2 separate regions of the Homo sapiens genome follow, and region 1 is linked to region 2. The links are contacts of gene promoters, found by promoter capture Hi-C in human tissues and cell types (Jung and others, 2019). All regions are on one chromosome and are shown on one strand. Each heading gives the region's core, a stretch centred on a gene start or on the middle of the fragment in contact. The rest is flanking DNA. Distances are from core to core; before and after follow the strand shown.

Region 1 (4,798 bases), core at 354-2,853, 640 kb before region 2:
GGTGGCTCAGGCCTGTAATCCCAGCACTTTGGGAGGCCAAGGCAAGTAGATTGCTTGAGCTCAGGAGTTTGAGACCAGCCTGGGCCATATGGTGAACCCTCATCTCTACAAAAAATACAAAAAAATTAGTGGGCCGTGCTGGCAGCCCACTAATATATATATTTGATATATATTAAATATACATTTGTATATATAAATACACACACACACACATATATATATATATATTTTTTTTTTTGGAGACAAGGTCTCACTTTGTCACCCTGGCTGGAGTGCAGTGGCGTGATCTCAGCTCACTACAGCCTTGACCTCCCAGGTTCAGGTGATCCTCCTGCCTTAGCCCCACAACTTGTACAACTTGATTTTTAGAAACTAAGCTTTTTAAAAAGTTTGAATCCATTCTGTGATCTTTAATACATCAGTTATTCATTTTGAGACATGTTGAACAAATAAAAAAATTAGGATACCAGAAGAGTCCCATCTTTTGAAGAATTAATTGGTAATGGGACAGAGAAGCAACTTCCGGGGCTAAGGCAGGAGGGTCACCTGAACCTGGGAGGTCAAGACTGCAGTGAGCTGAGATCATGCCACTGCACTCTAGCCTGGGTGACAAAGTGAGGCCCTGTCTCAAAAAAAAAAAAAAAAAAAAAAAAAAAATATATATATATATATATATATATATATATACACACACACACACACACACACACACAATATATAAAAATATATATAAAATAAGGAATATAATGTAATTTGAGAGTGTGTATATATACATACATATATATACAAAATAAGGAATATAATATAAGGTATATGCTAGGCATTATTCAACTAAAAAATACTTCCTTTCTTAATACACTTAACATATCTCGTTCCTTAATATACCCAGTTCCAAAATCCTAAATATCTACAGTAACTTTCTATACAAGGGATAGGAAGCAGAACTCAGTTCTCTAATTACTGCATCTAAAGCTGCTGCTTGTTCCCCAACTGCCTCTTGCTTTAGGATTCTCCCTGTTTTCGTGTTCCCAGTCTACAAAATTTTACCTGCTTTCCTGAAATCTCCCCATTAAGGTTTAGAAGATGTGGATATTGGCCGGGCGCAGTAGCTCATGCCTGTAATTCTAGCACGTTGGGAGGCAGAGGCGGGCGGACTGCCTGAGCTCAGGAGTTCAAGACCAACCTGGGCAACATGGTGAAACCCCGTCTCTACTAAAATACAAAAAAGAAAAAAAAAAAAAATTAGCCAGGCATGGCGGTGTGCACCTGTAGTCCCAGCAACTCGAGAGGCTGAGGCAGGAGAACTGCTTGAACCCGGGACGCAGAGGTTACAGTGTGCCGAGATGGATTACAGCCTGGCGACAGAGCAAGACTCCGTCTCAAAAAAAAAAAAAAAATGTGGATATCATTTTCTCTTTTAGTAAACAAATTAAGTAGACTTGAAATTTTAACAGTTCTGCTGTTTTTGAATTACTGACTTCTCTGTCCCATTACCAATGAATTCTTCAAAAGATGGGATTCCTGCTGTATCCTAATTTATTTGTTCAACATGTCTCAAAATGAATAACTGATGTATTAAAGATCATAGAATGAACTGATGTATTAAAGATCATAGAATGAACTGAAACTTTTTAAAAAGCTTAGTTTCTAAAAATCAGCATTTTAAACAAAAATTTAAGTTTAATCCATGTTGACATGGCTAATTTTTATTTCCTGTGGTTTGAAAAATTGGTTAACTATTGGTCCTGCGCTGTGGCTCACGCCTGTAATCCCAGGACTCTGGGAGTTATAAGGCAGGCGGATGGCCTGAGGTCACGAGTTTGAGACCAGCGTGGCCAACAGGTCGAAACCCCGTCTCTACTAAAAATACAAAAATTAGCTGGGCATGGTGGTGGGCATCTGTAATCCCAGCTACTAGGGAGACTGAGGCAGGAGAATCGCTTGAACCCGGGAGGCAGAGGTTGCAGTGAGCCAAGATCATGCCATTGCACTCCAGCCTGGGCGACAAGAGCAAAACTCCATCTCAAAAAAAAAAAAAAAAAAAAAAAAAAAAACAGGAAAAGAAAAAAGAAAAATTGGTAACTATTTTTCAAATTAACACTTGAGATCATCTGGATCAGTTTTAGGCCAAATTATAGTCTTGTCAAGTTCGTATTTGGTAATATTTAATTTTATTTCCAATATAATTCCATGATTTCAAGTAGTAGTGATAACAGAGGTTAAAATGGATGTAACTAGTGAGTATCACAAACCTGCTTCTGACATTTAAAGCTACTTTCTATGTCAGCTTAGCTTAAAATGAAAATAGAATTCCAATGTGCATAATATACAGAAAAGTGGGACTCTGCCTCTCATGACACAGGTTTTGCTGGTCAAGGCATCTTCAGTGCATAAGCTTATCACCAACTCAAAGGCTGTCTCTAAAGAAAAACATAGGCCGGGCGCGGTGGCTCACACCTGTAATCCCAGCACTTTGGGAGGCCGAGGCGGGCGGATCACGAGGTCAGGAGATCGAGACCATCCTGGCTAACACAATGAAACCCCGTCTCTACTAAAAATACAAAAAATTAGCCGGGCGTGGTAGCGGGCGCCTGTAGTCCCAGCTACTCGGGAGGCTGAGGCAGGAGAATGGCGTGAACCCGGGAGGCGGAGGTTGCAGTGAGCCGAGATCGCGCCACTGCACTCCAGCCTGGGCGACAGAGCGAGACTCCGTCTCAAAAAAAAAAAAAAGAAAAACATAATCACCCACAGTGTTACAGCTTGCTCTTGTTAACATAACAGCAAGATAAGTTCATGTCTTGGCAGTCGCATTAAATTTTAAAAATTTATTTGCAGAATCCAGAATTCTCTCTTTGTTCTTCTTCTTCTTTTTTGAGACGGAGCCTTGCTCTGTCACCCAGGCTGGACTGGAGTGCAGTGGCGCGATCTCAGCTCACTGCAGCCTCGACCTCTCAGGTTTAAGCAATTCTCCTGCCTCAGCCTCCCAAATAGCTGGTACTACAGACGTCCACCACCACTCCCAGCTAATTTTTGTATTTTTTGTGGAGACAGCATTTCACCATGTTGGCCAGGCTGATCACGAACTCCTGACCTCAGGTGATTCACCCGCCTCGACCTCCCAAAGTGCTGGAATTACAGGCATGAGCCACCGTACCCAGCCAGAATTCTCTTTCTTGTTTAAAAATATATATCCAAATAATTTTTATAACCTAAAAATAATACCCTAAGTATATAGCTGAGCACATACTCAACTTTTTTCTCTCTCTTTTGGTTTTTTGAAAGAGTATCACTCTGTTGTCCAGGCTGGAGTGCAGTGATACAATCACAGCGCACTATAGCCTTGACCTCCGGGGCTCAAGCAACCCTCCCACTTCAGCCACCCAAGTAGCTGGAACTACAGGCATGCCACACCCAACTAATTTTTGTATTTTTTGTAAAGATGGGGTTTCACCATGTTGCCCCAGCCTGGTATCGAACTCCTGGACACAAGCCTTGGCCTCCCAAAGTACTGGGATTACAGGCGTGAGCCACTGTAATGGCCATTCATCTTTTATCTGTCAGCAAAGTTCAGATTTCAGGCCAAGATTTTCCTTTCAGAAGATAACATGAGGCAAGAGAAAATTAATAGCAAACATTTTTCTCATATATATTCTAAGTATATGCTGCTGAGATCAGCCTTGACACATTTGTGAACTGAAGGCTCATCTACTTAATGAGAGGAAGTGCTGTGGCTGTAGAACGGATTTCTGACTTTGTTGAAAAATCACATAATAAACAATACTGAAATTACTGAACATCAAATCCAAATGCAGATTAGAACACTTCCTGACTTGATGAATAAAACAGTAAAAAACAGACACTTCTTGTCATTCTATGTATTCTTTCACAGTAACTAGGAAAATGAGAGAATATCTTCATACTTGATTGGCGAAGCACCTATACAAAGCCCTATTAAATAATACTGGTGAACCAAAAGTATTCTTTGTTCTTTATCCTCTATAGTATGTTCATGTGTTAAAAATTCTTCACTGCCTAGCTAGGCATCGTGGCACAAAACTGTAATTCCAGCTACTCAGGAGGCTGAGGCATTGCTTGAGGCCAGGAGTTCAAAGCTGTAGTGTGCAATTACTATGCTGGAGAACAGCCACTGCACCCCAGCCTGGGCAACACAGGGAGACCCCCATCTCTAAAAAACCAATTATTCACTGAGCCTATGAGGTAGGAATGTCTAGTCCCAGCATATAAAAGTCTGAAAGGGTGCAAGCTGTAAGATGGGATTCTATCAACCTGGGTCAATCCTGAAGGTATGTTGGGTGGGTTGCTTCATCTGATATACTACCAGTGCTGTCACTGGTTCTACAAGTAAGGTATATGCCCCAAAGGCAGCAAGTCATAAAGCAGTGCTCAGTCTGAGTAGGATAATCATAAACATCTGTAGCACTACTTCAACATGAGGAATGTGAAACCTAAAAATAAGCAGACTGTAAAATAGCAGAACAAGACTCTAATAACCTGGCTAAGCTGGATCTTTAACACAGTATTTTAGCAAAGTGTTGTTGGCTAAAGTAAAAATGAGAAAGATCTGGATGATAAAGAAAATGATGAATACAGAAGGCAAGGACCAACTTGCAGGAAAGACTTTTCTGATAAAGGAAACGCAGCTCACAATTCAGCTTTCTATAAGCAAGAGGCATTTTTTTCTACACCTGCCCTAGAGAAGGAGTAAAACAGTTTTGTTTCTGACCATAACCATGAAGCAGGTCATAGTTTTTCTGCAACTTTTTTTTTTTTTTTTTTT
Region 2 (4,834 bases), core at 1,372-3,871:
ATGAGGTCAGGTGTTCAAGACCAGCCTGACCAACATGGTGAAACCCCATCTCTACTAAAAATACAAAAATTAGCCAGGCATGGTGGCGTGCACCTGTAATCCCAGCTACTCAGGAGGCTGACGCAGGAGAATCATTTGAACCCAGAAGGCAGAGGTTGCAGTGAGCTGAGATCGCACCACTGCACTCCAGCCTGGGCAACAGAGCGAGACTCCGTTTCAAAAACAAACAAACAAACAAACAAACAAAAAAACAAACTCCAGAAACTAAGCTAGCTCCAGACCAAAAGATCAGAGGAAAATGGTAAACTGACACCCTCCTCCTGCATTCCAAAATGCAGAAAGCTAAAAACACTGATTCTGATGACCATAAACAGAGGATCTGGACTGAGGGAGAGTCATCAGAGGAAAAAGCTAGAGACAGCAAAATATAACCCTGTTCCCATCTCCACAACTAAGCTGGAGTCCAAGCCACAAATGGACCACTGCAGCTGCCTCCTCACTGTTCTCCCTGCTCCCACCCGCATCCCCCACCCACTCTCCAAAGAGCAGCCAGATGATGTTTTAAAAACTCTGTCAATAAGGACACGTTCCAACAAAATACTCTCCAAAAACTTTCCATCCACTTGGAATAAAATTCAAACTCTTCACCAACAGGTTCAAAGTCCAAGCCCCGCCCCCTTTATTCCATACCACTCTCCCTCCAAGCACTACATTCTGGACACAAGGGTCTCTCTCTTCGGTTTCTTACAACCTGCTAACCTCCGAGCCTTTTCCCATGCTGCTTTCCACGCCCAGAAGGCTCCTCCCCCTTTTTTTTTTTTTTTTACAGAGCTGGTTCCTTCTCCAGACTCAGTTCAAACTTTACCTTTTCAAAGACGCCTTCCCTGACCATTCTATCCAAAGTGGCATCCCTCCCACTCCACCACTCCCTATCAGACCATCTTTTTGTGTGTTTAGTACTTATCACCCCCGGACAATATTTTCTTCATTTATTTTCCTGTTTCTGTCTTCTCTCCCATTAGGGTTGAGGCCGTGTTTTGTTCACCCCTATGAATACAGCGCATGCAGCAGGCACTAAAAAGAATTTCCAGAATATCTGTTGACTATCAGCAGAGAAGCATCCTCCAGATAGGCTATTTTGTTCTCCTATTAGAATGGAGAAAACATCGATTTAGCCCCTACTATGTGCTGAGCACTGTAAATCCATGATTTTCCTTTCAGAAAGGTAAATGAGCTCAAGGTCGCACTGCTAGTCACTAGCAGACTTCTGAGTGAATTACCTCAATCCTAAACCCCTCTCAAGGGGAAGGGATGTCGTTCTGTGATTCACTCTCACATGGCCATAACAAGAAAAAGCAAACATTTCTAAACTGCTTTACAGTTTTAAAGCATTTTCACATTCATCTCACTTAAGAAAAACACAAAGCACTTGGAATGCCCAGAAAGCCATACGACAACAGGAAGTAAAGTAAGCAGTGCCTCAAGATTCAATACTGGGGCCCTGAATCCTAGTAGTGGGGACTGGGGAGCAGTCGGGAGTCTCTATTTCTGGTTCAGACGGATGGGGAAGCGGTGAGTCATGGGGTGAAGGCTTGCGCCACGGGAAACTTTGGTAAGGTCAAGCTACGAGGCAACAAAAAGTGAATCACAACGCTGGAAAACACCTTAGGCCTCAACAGAGGCCGAACTCTGGCTGACGGATGGGGAAACTGAGGCCTCAAAGGGAAAGCAACTTGCTCAAGTTCACTCAGCAAGTGAATAGAGCAGGAATCGGGGGTCTCATCTCCCCCAGTCCCCTTTTCTCTCCAGCAAGGAGGCTTTTCAACGAGAATTCTGAGACAAGAGGACAGGGGAGAGGCCAAGGGGCAGCTCACAGATTCCACCGAGGAGTCGGGAGAGGGCACAGGTAGGACCAGGAAGCACAGAAATGCTAGGATGGGGGCAGAAATGAGCCGAGGAGGAGGCAGGGGCAGTAGCTAGGCAGGTGGGTGAGGCGAGAAGGAAAAGGCGGAAGAGAAAGGGACAGAGTGAGGGCGGAGGAAAGTGCTGTGAGATTGGGGTCTGAAGGGACCTGGCGGGGTGGAGAGAGGCTGAGGGGAGAGGGCAGAATAAGTCTGACGATGGAAAAGTCCAGGGATCGGGGAGACATTGAAGGGAGTCGGGGAGGGGGTCCCAGACCCGGCAAGAAGTCTGACCCGGAGAGTTCCAGGGTCAGACCAGACCCCGAGGCGAGTCTGATGAAGGTGAAGTCCGGGCCCGGGGAGCCTGGGGGGAGCCCGTGGCAAGTCTGAAGGGGCCGGGCAGCCTCACCGCGCTTGTTTTTGGTGCCGTGCTTCTTGGCGGCCGTCAGCTCCTGCTCGATTTTCTTCTCCAGGAACTCCTGTTTCTTGCTTAACATCTCTTCCGTGTCCCGCAGCCGCTGGATGGCCTCCTGGGGGGTCGGGCCGCCCTTGCCGGCCTTACCCCCTCCAGCCCCGAACAGCTTCCCGAACACCGACATGGTTGCTGCTCGCCGCGCCGGCCTTCGCCGCCCGCTCCGGCTCGGCTCGGCTCGGCTCGGCTCGGGTCGGCTCCGGCGCCCGCTCCCAGTCCCGCCGCTCCCTGCCGCCGCAGGCCTCTCCTCCGCCTCCGCCTCCGCCCCGCAGCTGGGCCCGGCCGCGCCACCTCCCACAGGCCCCCACGCCCGGCCCGGCAGGCGTCAGGGCAACGCGCCACTGACTACAACTCCCAGTGGGCAACGCGCCGGCCGCGCCTCAAATCTAATAGGGGGAAGCGTGCTGCATGCCGGGAAGCTATAGTCTTCCGGCTTCAGGCGCTCCCCGGCGCGTCTTTTGCTGTAGCTGGGGTCAAAGGGCGTGTGGCATTCTGGGAAATGTAGTCTCCTTGGCCTGCGCTCTGTAGGAGTGGCAGAACAGTAAGAGAAATGACAGTAAGTGTGCAACACTGCTCAAAAATTTATTGCTAGTATGGGATACTGCCATGCTTGAACTTCACATGTATATTCATGTGAAGTTGTCTTAAAAGCGTGAAGGCAACAGTTGTTTCCAATTTCAACCTGTCAATTCTGTGGTCACAGAAGCAAAGCAGTATCTTCTCCAGTTAAGTACGGTAGTGTCCCCCTTATCTGAGATTTTACTTTGAGTAGTTTCACTTGGCCAGCTAAGGTCTGACAGTATTAAATAGAAAATTCCAGAAATAAACAGTTCATAAGTTTTTAATTTCCATTGGCCTAATGAAATCTCGTGCTATCCTGTTCCATCCTACCTGCAATGTGAATCATCCCTTTGTCCAACATACCTCTACCATCTGTTAGTTACTTACCAGCTTAGGAGTTATCAGATGGACTGCCACGGTGTTGCAGTGCTTTGGTTCGAGTAACCCTCATTTTACTATATAATGGCCCCAAAGTGCAAGAGTAGTAATGCTGGCAGTTTGGATATGCCAAAATGAAGCTGTAAAGTGCTTCCTTTAAATGTAAATGTGGAAGTTCTGAGCTTAAGAAAAAAAATCGTATGCTGAGCTTACTGAGGTCTGCAGTAAGAACGAATCTTCTAGCCCTAGAATTGTGAAAGAGGAAAAAGAAATTCATGCTGGTTTTGCTGTCGTACCTCAAACTGCAAAAGTTACAGCCACAGTGTGTGATAAGTGCTTAGTTAAGATAGAAAAGGCATTAAGTTGTATCCTTACTTACAGGGGAAAAAAAGAAAATAAATTTTTTTACAAAAGAAAAGAAAAAGCATTAAGCTTATACGTGGAAGACACGAACAAAAAATGTGTTCCAACTGACAGCAACCTGTTACCCCCCAGAAAGCATTGAGCCTGTATAAAGGCTTCAGCAAGGAATCTCCTAAAACCAGTGGCACCAAGCCACTTACTGAAAGTAATGGATGGTTGCACTGACTTAGGAATAGGTTTAGACTGCAAAATATAAAAATTACTGGATGGGCTGGGCACAGTGGCTCACACCTGTAATCTCAGCACTCTGGCAGGCCTAGGCGGATGGATCACCTGAGGTCAGGAGTTTGAGACCAGCCTGGCCAACGTGGTGAAACCCCATCTCTACTAAAAATAAAAAATAAAAATAAAAAAATTAGCTGGGCGTGGTGGCGCACGCCTGTAATCCCAGCTACTTGGGAGGCTGAGGCAGGAGAATCACTTGAACCTGAGAGGCAGAGGTTGCAGTAAACTGAAATCGTGCTATTGCACTCCAGCCTGGGCGAAAAGAGCAAAATTCTGTCTCAAAAAGAAAAAAAAAATTACTGGAGCCGGGCGCGGTGGCTCACGCCTGTAATCCCAGCACTTTGGGAGGCCAAGGCGGGCGGATCACGAGGTCAGGAGATCGAGACCATCCTGGCTAACAAGGTGAAACCCCGTCTCTACTAAAAATACAAAAAATTAGCCTGGCATGGTGGCGGCGGGTGCCTGTAGTCCCAGCTACTCTGGAGGCTGAGGCAGGAGAATGGCGTGAACCCAGGAGGCAGAGCTTGCAGTGAGCCGAGATTGCGCCACTGCACTCCAGCCTGGGCGACAGAGAGAGACTCCGTGTCAAAAAAAAAAAAAAAAAAAAGGCCGGGCGCGGTGGCTCATGCCTGTAATCCCAGGACTTTGGGAGGCCGAGGCGGGCGGATCACGAGGTCAGGAGATCAAGATCATCCTGGCTAACACGGTGAAACTCCATCTCTACTAAAAATACAAAAAAATTAGCCAGGCATGGTGGCACGCGCCTGTAGTCCCAGCTACTCAGGAGGCTGAGGCAGGAGAATGGCGTGAACCCGGGAGGCAGAGCTGGCAGTGAGCCGAGATGGCACCACTGCACTCCAGCCTGGGCAACAGA

What was found. The method cuts DNA at HindIII sites, captures the fragments that hold promoters and counts their contacts. A contact is called where the count stands out against the background at its distance.
Region 1: a fragment that was not itself captured here is called in contact with the fragment with the promoter of CHMP4B in region 2 in 2 of the 25 tissues and cell types used here (adrenal gland and dorsolateral prefrontal cortex).

Annotation. Positions count from the first base shown.
Region 1 is chr20:34,452,074-34,456,871 of GRCh38, reverse strand. The region is part of intron 12 of ITCH (itchy E3 ubiquitin protein ligase); the gene reads right to left. Among named protein-coding and RNA genes, the nearest start is that of MIR644A, 12 kb to the left of the region's middle. The HindIII fragment of the contact is 4,557 bases long and covers 1-3,881 here.
Region 2 is chr20:33,809,135-33,813,968 of GRCh38, reverse strand. CHMP4B (charged multivesicular body protein 4B) reads right to left here and starts at 2,621. Exons shown (of 5, transcript NM_176812.5): 1 at 2,311-2,621. The coding sequence starts at 2,500. It overlaps ZNF341-AS1 (ZNF341 antisense RNA 1), which reads left to right and starts at 2,870. Exons shown (of 4, transcript NR_110623.1): 1 at 2,870-2,929. RefSeq lists enhancers at 1,328-1,397, 1,226-2,066, 2,833-2,912, 2,652-2,946 and a silencer at 2,493-2,772. The HindIII fragment of the contact is 9,541 bases long and covers 1-4,834 here.